Regions from separate parts of the Homo sapiens genome. Here region 2 is linked to region 1. The links are contacts of gene promoters, found by promoter capture Hi-C in human tissues and cell types (Jung and others, 2019). All regions are on one chromosome and are shown on one strand. Each heading gives the region's core, a stretch centred on a gene start or on the middle of the fragment in contact. The rest is flanking DNA. Distances are from core to core; before and after follow the strand shown. Region 1 holds the start of ATCAY (ATCAY kinesin light chain interacting caytaxin). Region 2 overlaps ZFR2 (zinc finger RNA binding protein 2).

Region 1 (5,562 bases), core at 2,592-5,091:
ACCAGCCTGGCCAACATGGTGAAACCCCGTCTCTACTAAAAATACAAAAATTAGCCTGGCGTGGTGGTGGGTGCCTGTAATCCCAGCTACTCGGGAGGCTGAGGCAGAAAAATCGCCTGAACCTGGGAGGTAGAGGTTGCAGTGAGCCGAGATCGCACCAGCCTGGGTGACAGAGCAAGCCTCTGTCTCAAAGGGAAAAAAAAACAGGGAACCAAGCTTAGGTCACACGCTGTGGCTCCTCGGTGGTGGCTGTAGCACCATGGACAGCTCCCAGGCTTTGGTGGACTGGGGAGAAGCTGTTGCTCTTTAAATGCCAGTCTGGGCAGGCCTGTCTGTCCAGAATATGCCTTCCTCCCTCTTTTTTATTCATCTAACTCCACTCACTCCTCAGGGGTCTCACTCATGCAGTCGCCACCTCTGTGCCCCACCAGGAAACCTCCCCAACGGTCCCCCAACCTGCACCACTCCAAAGATGTCTCTAGATCAGCCCAGACTCTGTTGTCCACCTGTTTCTCTCAACTGAATGGGAATTATTTATTTTTTTTTTTTTTGAGATGGAGTCTCACTCTGTCACCCCACCTGGAATGCAGTGGCTCAATCTGGGCTCACTGCAACCTCCACCTCCCGGGTTCAAGCGATTCTCCTGCCTCAGTCTCCCGAGTAGCTGGAATTACAGGCGCCCACCGCCACGTCTGACCAATTTTTGTATTTTTAGTAGAGGCGGGGTTTCACCATGTTGTCCAGGCTGGTCTCAAACCCCCAACCTCAAGTTATCTGCCCGCCTCAGCCTCCCAAAGTGCTGAGATTACAGGTGTGAGCGGCCTCCCAAAGTGCTGGGATTACATGCCTGGCCTCAACTGAATGGTCATTCTAAGAGAATTCCCAATCCTGCACACAAAAACAGCATAAATTAACTGAATTAGGGAAGCCACGCCTCTGCCAGCCGTGAGCTGGGAAGAAGCAGATACCTCAGAGGCAGGGAGCGCAGGCGGGTGATGATGAGAGGGGCCACAGCCGCAGCCCCACGCAGGGGAGCCCACCACTAACCCTGCACCCCCACCCCTGCACAAAAGAGCTGGTGGGCACTAGCCATATCGCCTTGCAACCTTCCTCGGATGCAGAATCCACTCCTTCAGGCATCCTCTTCCTCCAATGCTCTGAAGGCCTGGGGAGCCTGAGAGATGCCCGCTGCACCCAGGCAGGGCTCGCCTTTGTTTGCCAGTAATGGGAATTACTCATATCTTGTGCCCAGTGCCCAGCACAGGGACTCATCGAATCCACCCCTCAGTTAACACAAGTGTCTCTTACAAGACCTCCATTTTCTCCAGCCAGGAGATGGGAAGTCCCAACCTTGTGCTAAAGTCTCTGGGGCCTCTGCTTCCCCATCAGGGCTTTCTGCCTCTGCTGTGGGCAGGTTACCTTTATGCCTCGGAAGAGTGCAGACCTCCATGCAGCGGGTGAGGCTGCCAGCCTAGGTGGGGTGTCATTGAATGTCATGAAGGGAGCCAGCCTTCATGCACTCTGCCTGCGTCTCCTGAACAGCTTTGGACCAGGAGTTGCTACCTTGTGCGGAGAACGTGTGGTGCATAAGAACAACCGAGCCTCTGCTCTTCGAAAATGTATATTCTGGCCAGGTGCGGTGGCTCACGCCTGTAATCCCAACACTTTGGGAGGCCAAGGTGGGCAGGTTGCCTGAGGTCAGGAGTTTAAGACCAGCCTGGCCAACATGGTGAAACCCCGTTTCTACCAAAAATAAAAAAAATAGCTGGGTGTGGTGGTGCATGCCTGTAGTCCCAGATGCTTGGGAGGCTGAGGCATGAGAATCGCTTGAACCTGAGAGGAGGAGGAGGTTGCGGTGAGCTGAGATCACACCACTGCACTCCAGCCTGGGAAACAGAGCAAGTCTCTGTCTCAAAACAAAACAAAACAAAACAAAACCCAGTATATTCTAATAAGGAGGAGCAGAGAATCAACAACAACAACAAAAAAGTGTAAATAATTTCAATTAATAGTAAGTGCTGTGGGTCAGGCACGGTGGCTCACACCTATAATCCCAACATTTTTCGAGGCTGAGATGAGAGGCTCACTTGAGCCCAAGAATTCAAGACCAGCCTGGGCAATAGAGAGATACCCTATTTCTACAAAAATTACACAGATTAGCAGGGCGTGGTGGTAGGAGCCTGTAGTCTCAACCACTGGAGAGAAAGAGGTGTAAGGATCACCTGAGCCCGGGAGTTCAAGACTGCAGCGAGCTGTGATTGTGCCATTGCACTCCAGCCTGGATGACAGGGAAAACTCCTGTTTCTTAAAAAAATAAGTAAATAAAATAAACATTAAAAACAGCAATAGCAAGAAATACATATAGGCCGAGCACAGTGATTCGCACCTCTAATCCCAGCACTTTGGGAGGCCAAGGTGGGCGGATCACCTGAAGTCAGGAGTTCGAGACCAGCCTGGCCAACATGTTGAAACCCCGCCTCTACTAAAAATACAAAAAAAAAATTAGCCAGGTGTGGTGGTGTGTGCCTGTAATCCCAGCTACTTGGGAGGCTGAGGGAGGAGAACCACTTGAACCTGGGAGTCGGAGGTTGCAGTGAGCCAAGATCGCACCACTGTACTCCAGCCTGGCAACAGAGCGAGACTCCACCTAAAAAAAAAAAAAAAAGAAAGAAAGAAAGAAAGAAAGAAAGAAAGAAAGAAAGAAAGAAAGAAAGAAAGAAAGAGAAAGAAACACATAGGGAGCTTTTCTTGTGCCCCAGCACTGTGTTTAGTGCTGTCTATGCATTATCTCATAATGTGGAAAAGCCATAGCGGCTCCATTTCACAGATGAGAAAAACTGAGGCCCGCAGGTGAGATCACTCATGCCCACTGGTCTGCCAGCTGGGGAGTGGCTGGGCTAGAGTTCAAACCCACTTCCAGTCCGACTGCACGGCCTGCACTCTCCACCCTACCATCTTCCACAGTCTCCTTGAATTCCTCCAGGGCGAGGCCACGCCAGCGCACAACTGCAGGGGGCGCCGTTCCCACAGCAGCCCTGCAAAGTGAGTGTGCCTGAGAAACTTCCGCCTCCCCTGCACCCAGCCCTGTTTAGGGCACGAGGCTGAATCAATGGTAAGTGACCATCTAATGGACCCACAACACGGTGACCTGGGGACAGTCATTTCTTTCTTTTTTTTTTTTTTTCTTTGAGACAGAGTCTCCCTCTGCCGCCCAGGCTGCAGTGCAGTGGCGCCATCTCGGCTCACTGCAACCTCCGCCTCCCAGGTTCAAGCGATTCTCCTGCCTCAGCCTCCCGAGTAGCTGGGATTACAGGCGCACGCCACCACGCCTGGCTAATTTTTGTATTTTCAGTAGAAACGGGGTTTCACCATGTTGGCCAGGCTGGTATCGAACTCCTGACTTCAGGTGATCCTCCCTCCTCGGCCTCCGAAAGTGCTGGGATTACAGGCGTGAGCCATGGCATCCGACCTGGGGACAGTCATTTCTTTGCCTGCACAGACTTTTTGGGGGATGCCACCCCTCACCCCTGCTCCCTTTGCAAGGAGAAGTGCCAAGAAGACCTTTCCCAACTCCCCCACCCCCCATTCTCTAAGGAATGAGGCCATCTTGCCATTTATTTATTTATTTGTCCGTTGTTTTGTTTTTAAATCTCTGATGCGCCATCAGAAAATTATTTCTGCCTCTGCCCCTGGCGTGGCTTTCGGAGATGCTTGTCTGTCAGCCAATGGGGAGGATCGGATTCTGGCAGGGGGCTGTGCTTTTCCGTCAGGCCGCCACCCCCCACCCCCTCCTCCCTGCACACAAAAGCAGCATAAATTAACCGTCTTCGGGAAGCCGAGCCTCTGCCAGCCCTGAGCTGGGAAGAAGCAGCTACCTCGGAGGCAGGGCGCGCAGGCGGGCGGCGATGAGAGGGGGCGCAGCCGCAGCCCCGCGCTGGGGAGCCCACCGCTAACCCTGCACCCCACCCACCCCTGCACAAAAGAGCTGGCGGGCGCTGGCCACGTCGCCCTGGGTGACCTTCCTCGGATGCAGAATCCGCCCCTGCGAGCATCCTCTTCCTCCTAGGCTCTGAAGGCCCGGGGAGCGTGAGCGATGCCCAGCTGCACCCGGGCAGGGCTCGCCTTTGTTTGCCAGTAAGGAGGAGAGGCTGTCTCAGCTGCAGAGGTGAGTGCGCGCATCTCCCCTTCTCCCAGGATAAACCGTCTCCCTGGAAGGTTTATCCGGCAGCCTTTGCCGCCTCTAAATCCCTTTCCAGCAGATGGGGCGGGTGGGAGCAGAGAGCCACGGTCTTGTGACTCCGTGAAGGCCCTCACATCCCTGTTCCCGGTACCAGGGAAAACCGTTCCCTGAGCTGCGCCCAGCAACACAGTTTACCTTCCGCGCGCACCGTTCCCCTCTAAGTGCACCATTTTCAGGACACGCTGAGAGCTCGGGCGGATGAAAACCTCAGCTTCTCTCTGGGACGCTGAAATAGACCCATCCTAGCCCTATGTATTTCCTATTTATAACGCTAGGAAGGCCACCAGCCGACGATTTCGGGAAAAAAAAAAAAAAAAAATCTAAGTGTGTCGATAAAGGCTGTCCTGTGGGGTGGGGAGGAAGGGGGTGGTTTATGGTTTAAGACACAGATGCCTCCTCCTTATTGGAACTCGTATGTGATTTGTTAATAATCAGACATCAGGGCTCAAATGAGCGCTTCACTCCCGTTCCTTGATGTCACTGTCTTCTTTTGGCCGTCCCCAAATGCGAAGCCAGGATCTGAGTGCAGGAGTGTCCGGGGCCCACTGAGGACCCACCCCACCCCATCCTTAGAAGACTGTGGAGTCAACGCCTGTGGCTGCAGCTGGCAGGGGGTGGGGGTCGGGGGCGGGGCTGGTGGGAGTGTTCCTGGGGGCTGAGGTCACACCCAGCTCAGTATAAGGAAGGGAGAGGCGAAGACCCCTTCCTCCGGAGAGCAAATGCGTTTCTACTGCCGAGGAGAACTTACCCTCGCGGGAAGGGCCTGGCTGGCTGCTGCCACCGCCCCCCCCCCGACCCCATAGCATCCAGGAGGGATTTTTTTTTTTTCCATGCTGCGTGTTACTGTCCCTCCTCCAAGCATGAATGACGACATTGAGGACAGAGAATCGAGTGAGAAACGCTCACCCTGTACGGGGGAGGGTCTAGTTTTAGCCGTCCCCTCCCCCCACTTCCTCATCTGGCTGAGGCTGCCTCTGGGTCCTTCCTTGCTAAGCCACAGTCCCCTGTCCCCGATGCAAACCCGATATCTATGCTGGGGGGCTGCAGGTAACCTACTCCACAGAGAGGCAGCCTGGATGCCATGAGAGTTGGGGGCCTTAGATGCTTCATGTATTTGGTTTTTTTGAGACAGGGTCTTGCTATCTTGCCCGGGCTGGTCTTAACCTCCTGTGCTCAGGCGATCCTCGCAAAGTGCTGGGATTACACGTGTGAGCCACTGCCCCCAGCCAGATGCTTTATCTTTTATTTTATTTTTTGAAGTAGGGTCTCTGTTGCTCAGGCTGGAAAGCAGTGGCATGATCATAGCTCACTGCAGTCTCGAC
Region 2 (4,971 bases), core at 2,145-4,644, 36 kb before region 1:
CTGCCTCCCAGCTACAGAGAGAGCTCCAACGTGGTTTCAGAGTGCAAGGAGGGTGGAGGAAAGACCACCCCCTTCGCAAACCCTCCTGTTGGGAACACGGCCGGCAACGGGTCTTGGAGAGGAGGCCTCACTCCTCGGCAGGGCCATGGGGCCGTGGCCTTCCTCTTCTGTGGGTCTGATTTGTGGTCTCAGATGCACCCATGGATCTGTGTGTTCAAAGCATGGTTCTGGCAACTGAGGAGCATTTTGTAATATGCAGGTGCGGTGGCTCACCCCTGTAATCCCAGCGCCTTGGGAGGCTAAGGCGAGAGGACTGCTGGAGCCCAGGAGTTCGAGACCAGCCTGGGCAACATAGCCAGACCCTGTCCCTACAAAAAATAAAAAAAAATTAGCCGGGTGTGGTGGAGCACCTGTAGTCCCAGCTACTCGGGAGGCTGAGGTGGGAGGGTCACTTGAGCCCAGGAATTTGAGACATAGCCAGACCCTGTCACCACAAAAAATTAAAAAAATTAGCTGGGTGTGGTGGGGCACCTGTAGTCCCAGCTACTCAGGACTTGAGGCGGGAGGATCGCTTGAGCCCAGGAGTTTGAGGCTGCAGTGAGCCATGATTGCACCAGCGTACTCCAGCCTGGGCCACAGAGCTGGACACTGTATTGAGACAGAGTCTCACTCTGTCGCCCAGGCTGGAGTGCAGTGTCACAATCTTGGCTCACTGCAACCTCCACCTCCCAGTTTCAAGCAATTCTCGTGCCTCAGCCTCCCAAGTAGCTAGGATTACAAGCGTGAGCCACTGTACCTGGCCAAAATCCATAATACTCTTAAACTTGTAGGTCTGATGTGTCACAGGTAAAGCAGAGTGACTTTTTTTTTTTTATTTTTTTGAGATAGGGTCTGGCTCTGTCACCCAGGCTGTAGTGCAGTGGCATGATCATACCTCACTGCAGCCTCCAACTCCTGGGCTCAAGAGATCCTTCCACCTCAACCTCCTGAGTAGCTGGGACTACAGGCGTGCACCACCATGCCTAGCTAATTTTTTTATTTTTTGTAGAGATGGGGGTCTTGCTGTGTTGGCCAGGCTGGTCTTGAACTCATGAGTTCAAGTGATCTGCCCGCCTCGGCTTCCCAAAGCACAGGAATTACAGGCGTGAGTCACTGTGCCCGGCCAGAGTAACTCTACCATAGCAACGAGAGACCCTGAGCATTAGAATTGCACATTGATGTTTGGAAAATGTTAGACAGCATGCAATTCAATTTTTAAAGCAAAGAAACCCTGTAGCTGTATATAATTTTGATCTAAAAACTTGAGTCATTACATTATCTTTTCCATTTTGTCTGAAAAAATGACAGCTTTATTGAGATATAATTCATTTCCTATAGAATTCAACCATTTAAAGTATAAAATGTAGTGGTTTTCAGTATATTCACAGAGATGTACAATTGTCACTTCAATGCATTTCAGAACTTTTTTTTCTTTTTTCTTTTTTTTTTTTTGAGACGGAGTTTTGCTCTTGTGGTCCTGGCTGGAGTGCAGGGGCATGATCTCAGCTCACTGCAACCTCTGCCCCCAGGGTCCAAGTGATTCTCCTGCCTCAGCCTGTCGAGTAGCTGGGATTGCAGGTGCACGCCACCAAGCCCAACTAATTTTTTGTATTTTTAGTAGAGATGGGGTTTCACCATGTTGGTCACGCTGGTCTCGAACTCCTGACTGCAGGTGCTCCACCTGCCTTGGCCTCCCAAAGTGCTGGGATTACAGGTGTAAGCCACCGTGCCTGGCCCATTTCAGAACATTTCATGACCCCACAATGAAACCCCAGCAGAAGGGAAAATGTAATGGTGCAGCCATTGTGGAAACAGTCTGGCAGTTGCTCGAAAGTTAAATCTAGAATTATCTCATGACTCAGCAATTCCACTCCTAGGTTCCTACTCAAAGGAAAAGAAAGCAGAGGCTCAAGAAGGTATTTTACACCAATGTTCACAGCAGCACTGTTCACAGTGGCTAAAAGGTAGGAGCAACCCAACCGTCCATCAGTGGATAAATGGGCTGGGCGCGGTGGCTCACGCCTGGGATCCCAGCACTTCGGGTGGCCGAGGCGGGCGGATCACTTGAGGTCAGGAGGTCGGGACCAGCCTGGCCAACATGGTGAAACCCTGTCTCTACTAAAAATACAAAAAATAACTGGGCCTGGTGGGGCGTGCCTGTAATCCCAGCTACTCAAGAGGCTGAGCTGGGAGGATTGCTTGAACCCAGGAGGTGGAGGTTGCAGTGAGTTGAGATCGCGCCACTGCACTCCAGCCTGGGAGACAGAGCAAGACTCTGTCTCAAAAAAATTGGATGAATGAACATAACGTGGTCCATCCACACAGTGAAATATGATTCGGCCTTAAAAAGAAAACAAGTCCTGGCCGGGCGCGGTGGCTCACGCCTGTAATCCCAGCACTTTGGGAGGCCGAGGCAGGCAGATCACGAGGTCAGGAGATCGAGACCATCCTGGCTAACATGGTGAAACCCTGTCTCTACTAAAAATACAAAAAGAAATTAGCTGGGCGTGGTGGCGGGCGCCTGTAGTCCCAGCTACTAGGGAGGCTGAGGCAGGAGAATGGCGTGAACCTGGGAGGCGGAGCTTGCAGTGAGCAGAGATCACACCACTGCACTCCAGCCTGGGTGTCAGAGCAAGACTCTGTCTCAAAAAACAAAAAAGAAAGAAAGAAAAAAAACAAGTCCTGACATAGGCTACAAGGTGGATGAACCGTGAGGACATCAGGCTCAGTGAGAGAAGCCAGGCACAGAAGGACAAATCCTGTGTGGTTCCAGTCCTAGGAGGTCCCTAGAGGTGTCAGATTCACAGAGACAGAAAGTAGGATGTGGGGGGGGGGGTGCCAGGGACCGGGGAGGGGAAGGGGAGTGAGTGTTTCACGGGGACAGAGCTTCAGTTTGGGAAGATGAGAAAGTTCTGGAGATGGATGGTGGTGACGGCTCCCCAACCACGTGAATGTGCTTAATGCCACTGAACTATGCACTTATTAATAAAACGGTAAAACTGGTCAATTTTATGTTATCTAGACTTTATCATAATAAAAAGCAAAGAAACCTCATATCCACTACCAATCACTTCCCCTCTCCACCCATCTATCTTGCTTTTTAATGTTAATAGAAATTTCTGAATATTATAGGAAAGTAACTTTTAAAAAAACATACAAATGAAGTTAACTTTTCAATGTTTTACTTTTTTTTTTTTGAGACAGAATCTTGCTCTGTCACCCACACTGGAGTGCAGTGGTGCGATCTCGGCTCACTGCAACCTCCACCTCCTGGGTTCAAGTGATTCTCCTGTCTCGGCCTCCGGAGTATCTGGGATTACAGGCATCTGCCACCATACCTGGCTAATTTTTGTATTTTTGGTAGAGACGGGGTTTCCACCATGTTGGCCAGGCTGATCTTGAACCCCTGACCTCAAGTGATCCACCTGCCTCAGCCTCCAAAAGTACTGGGATTACATGTGTGAGCCACTGCGCCTGGCCCAATGTTTTACATTTAAATTGCATTTATAATGAAGACATATTTAATTTTTGCACATTTGTGGTTTAATGGCATCTTGTGGTTGAATCCTTTAGATGAGTCAGGGTTCCAGCAGAGAACGAGGCCTGGTACTCTGAGGCCTCCACGTGGGAAGGAATTCCTCTCCCTCCCTGGAGTCTGGAATGGAGCTCCCCGTGGCCCACTCCCGGGGGACTCAGTCTCTGCAGCTAGTGTCTGTGCTCTGCAGTTTCCAGGCAGAACCCTGATTGGGAAAGGGGGCTGCAGGGTTGCCCCAGGTGGTCATGGCCAAGTACCACAGCTGGGTGGCTTCAGCAACACAGACTTATTTATTCTCACAGTTCTGGAGCGTGGATGTCCTAGATCCAGGTGTCAGCAGGGCCGGTCCCTCTGTGGCTTGCAGACGGCAGTCTTTGCCCTGTGTCCTCACGTGGTTGTCCCTCTGTGCGTGTCTGTGTTCTAATCTCTTCTTACAGGGATCCAGTCGGATTGGATTAGGGCCCATTCTGCATTGGGCTAAATTGATTAAGTTTAATTCATTTCAACTTAATTCTCTCTTCAAAGACCCTGGCTCTCCAACTGCACCCTAGACTGGGCAGCATAGTCAGACCCTGTCTCTACAAAATTTTTTTTTTATTACAGAAGTATAAAGGGGGGCCAGTCATGGTGCCTCACACCTGTAATCCCAGCACTTTGGGAGGCCGAGGCAGGAAGATGGCTTGAACCCAGGAGTTTGAGGCCAGCCTGGGCAACATAGTGCTACCCTATCTCTATTAAAGAAGAAAATTTCAAAAAAAGAAAAAAAAAAAAGGTAAAACTGCAACATGGTCCCTACAAGGTCACACTTTTGTAATCCCAGCACTTTGGGAGGCTGAGGCAGGAGGACTGCTTGAGCCCAGGAGTTTGAGGCCAGCCTGGGCAACATGACAAAACCCCATCTTTACAAAAAAAAAAAAAAAAATTAGCCAGGCGTGGTGGTGTGCACCTGTAGTTCCAGCTACTCAGGAGGCTGAGGAAGGAGGGTCACTGGAGCCCAGGAGGTCAAGGCTGCAGTGAGCCATGATCACACCACTGCACTCCAGCCTGGGAAACAGTGAGATCCTGTCTCAAAAAAAGAAGAGGAAAGAAAAAAACTAAAAATAAGTCAAGACCCTGTCTCCAAATCCGGGCATATTCAGAGGTACTGAGGGTTAGGACTTCAACACAGGAAGGTGTGGGAAAAGGGCGCGGATTCAGCCCCTGATGGCTGCTTCAGGTCATGTCCATAATACACTGAAATGATATGGAAATCTTTTTCTTTTTTGTTTTCTGAAACGGAGTCTTGCTCTGTCGCCAAGGCTGGAGTGCAATGGCACAATCTTGGCTCACTGCAACCTCTGCCCCCCAGGTTCAAGTGATTCTCCAGCTTCAGTCTCCCAAGTAGCTGGGACTAAAGG

Evidence for each region. The method cuts DNA at HindIII sites, captures the fragments that hold promoters and counts their contacts. A contact is called where the count stands out against the background at its distance.
Region 2: a contact is called between a fragment that was not itself captured here and the fragment with the promoter of ATCAY in region 1, in 3 of the 25 tissues and cell types used here (adrenal gland, dorsolateral prefrontal cortex and mesenchymal stem cells).

Annotation. Positions count from the first base shown.
Region 1 is chr19:3,876,844-3,882,405 of GRCh38, forward strand. It overlaps ATCAY (ATCAY kinesin light chain interacting caytaxin), which reads left to right and starts at 3,842. Exons shown (of 13, transcript NM_033064.5): 1 at 3,842-4,165. RefSeq lists silencers at 108-402, 165-365 and an enhancer at 3,517-4,047. The HindIII fragment of the contact is 15,458 bases long and covers 1-5,562 here.
Region 2 is chr19:3,841,150-3,846,120 of GRCh38, forward strand. The region is part of intron 1 of ZFR2 (zinc finger RNA binding protein 2); the gene reads right to left. Among named protein-coding and RNA genes, the nearest start is that of ZFR2, 25 kb to the right of the region's middle. RefSeq lists an enhancer at 2,082-2,581. The HindIII fragment of the contact is 7,455 bases long and covers 1-4,971 here.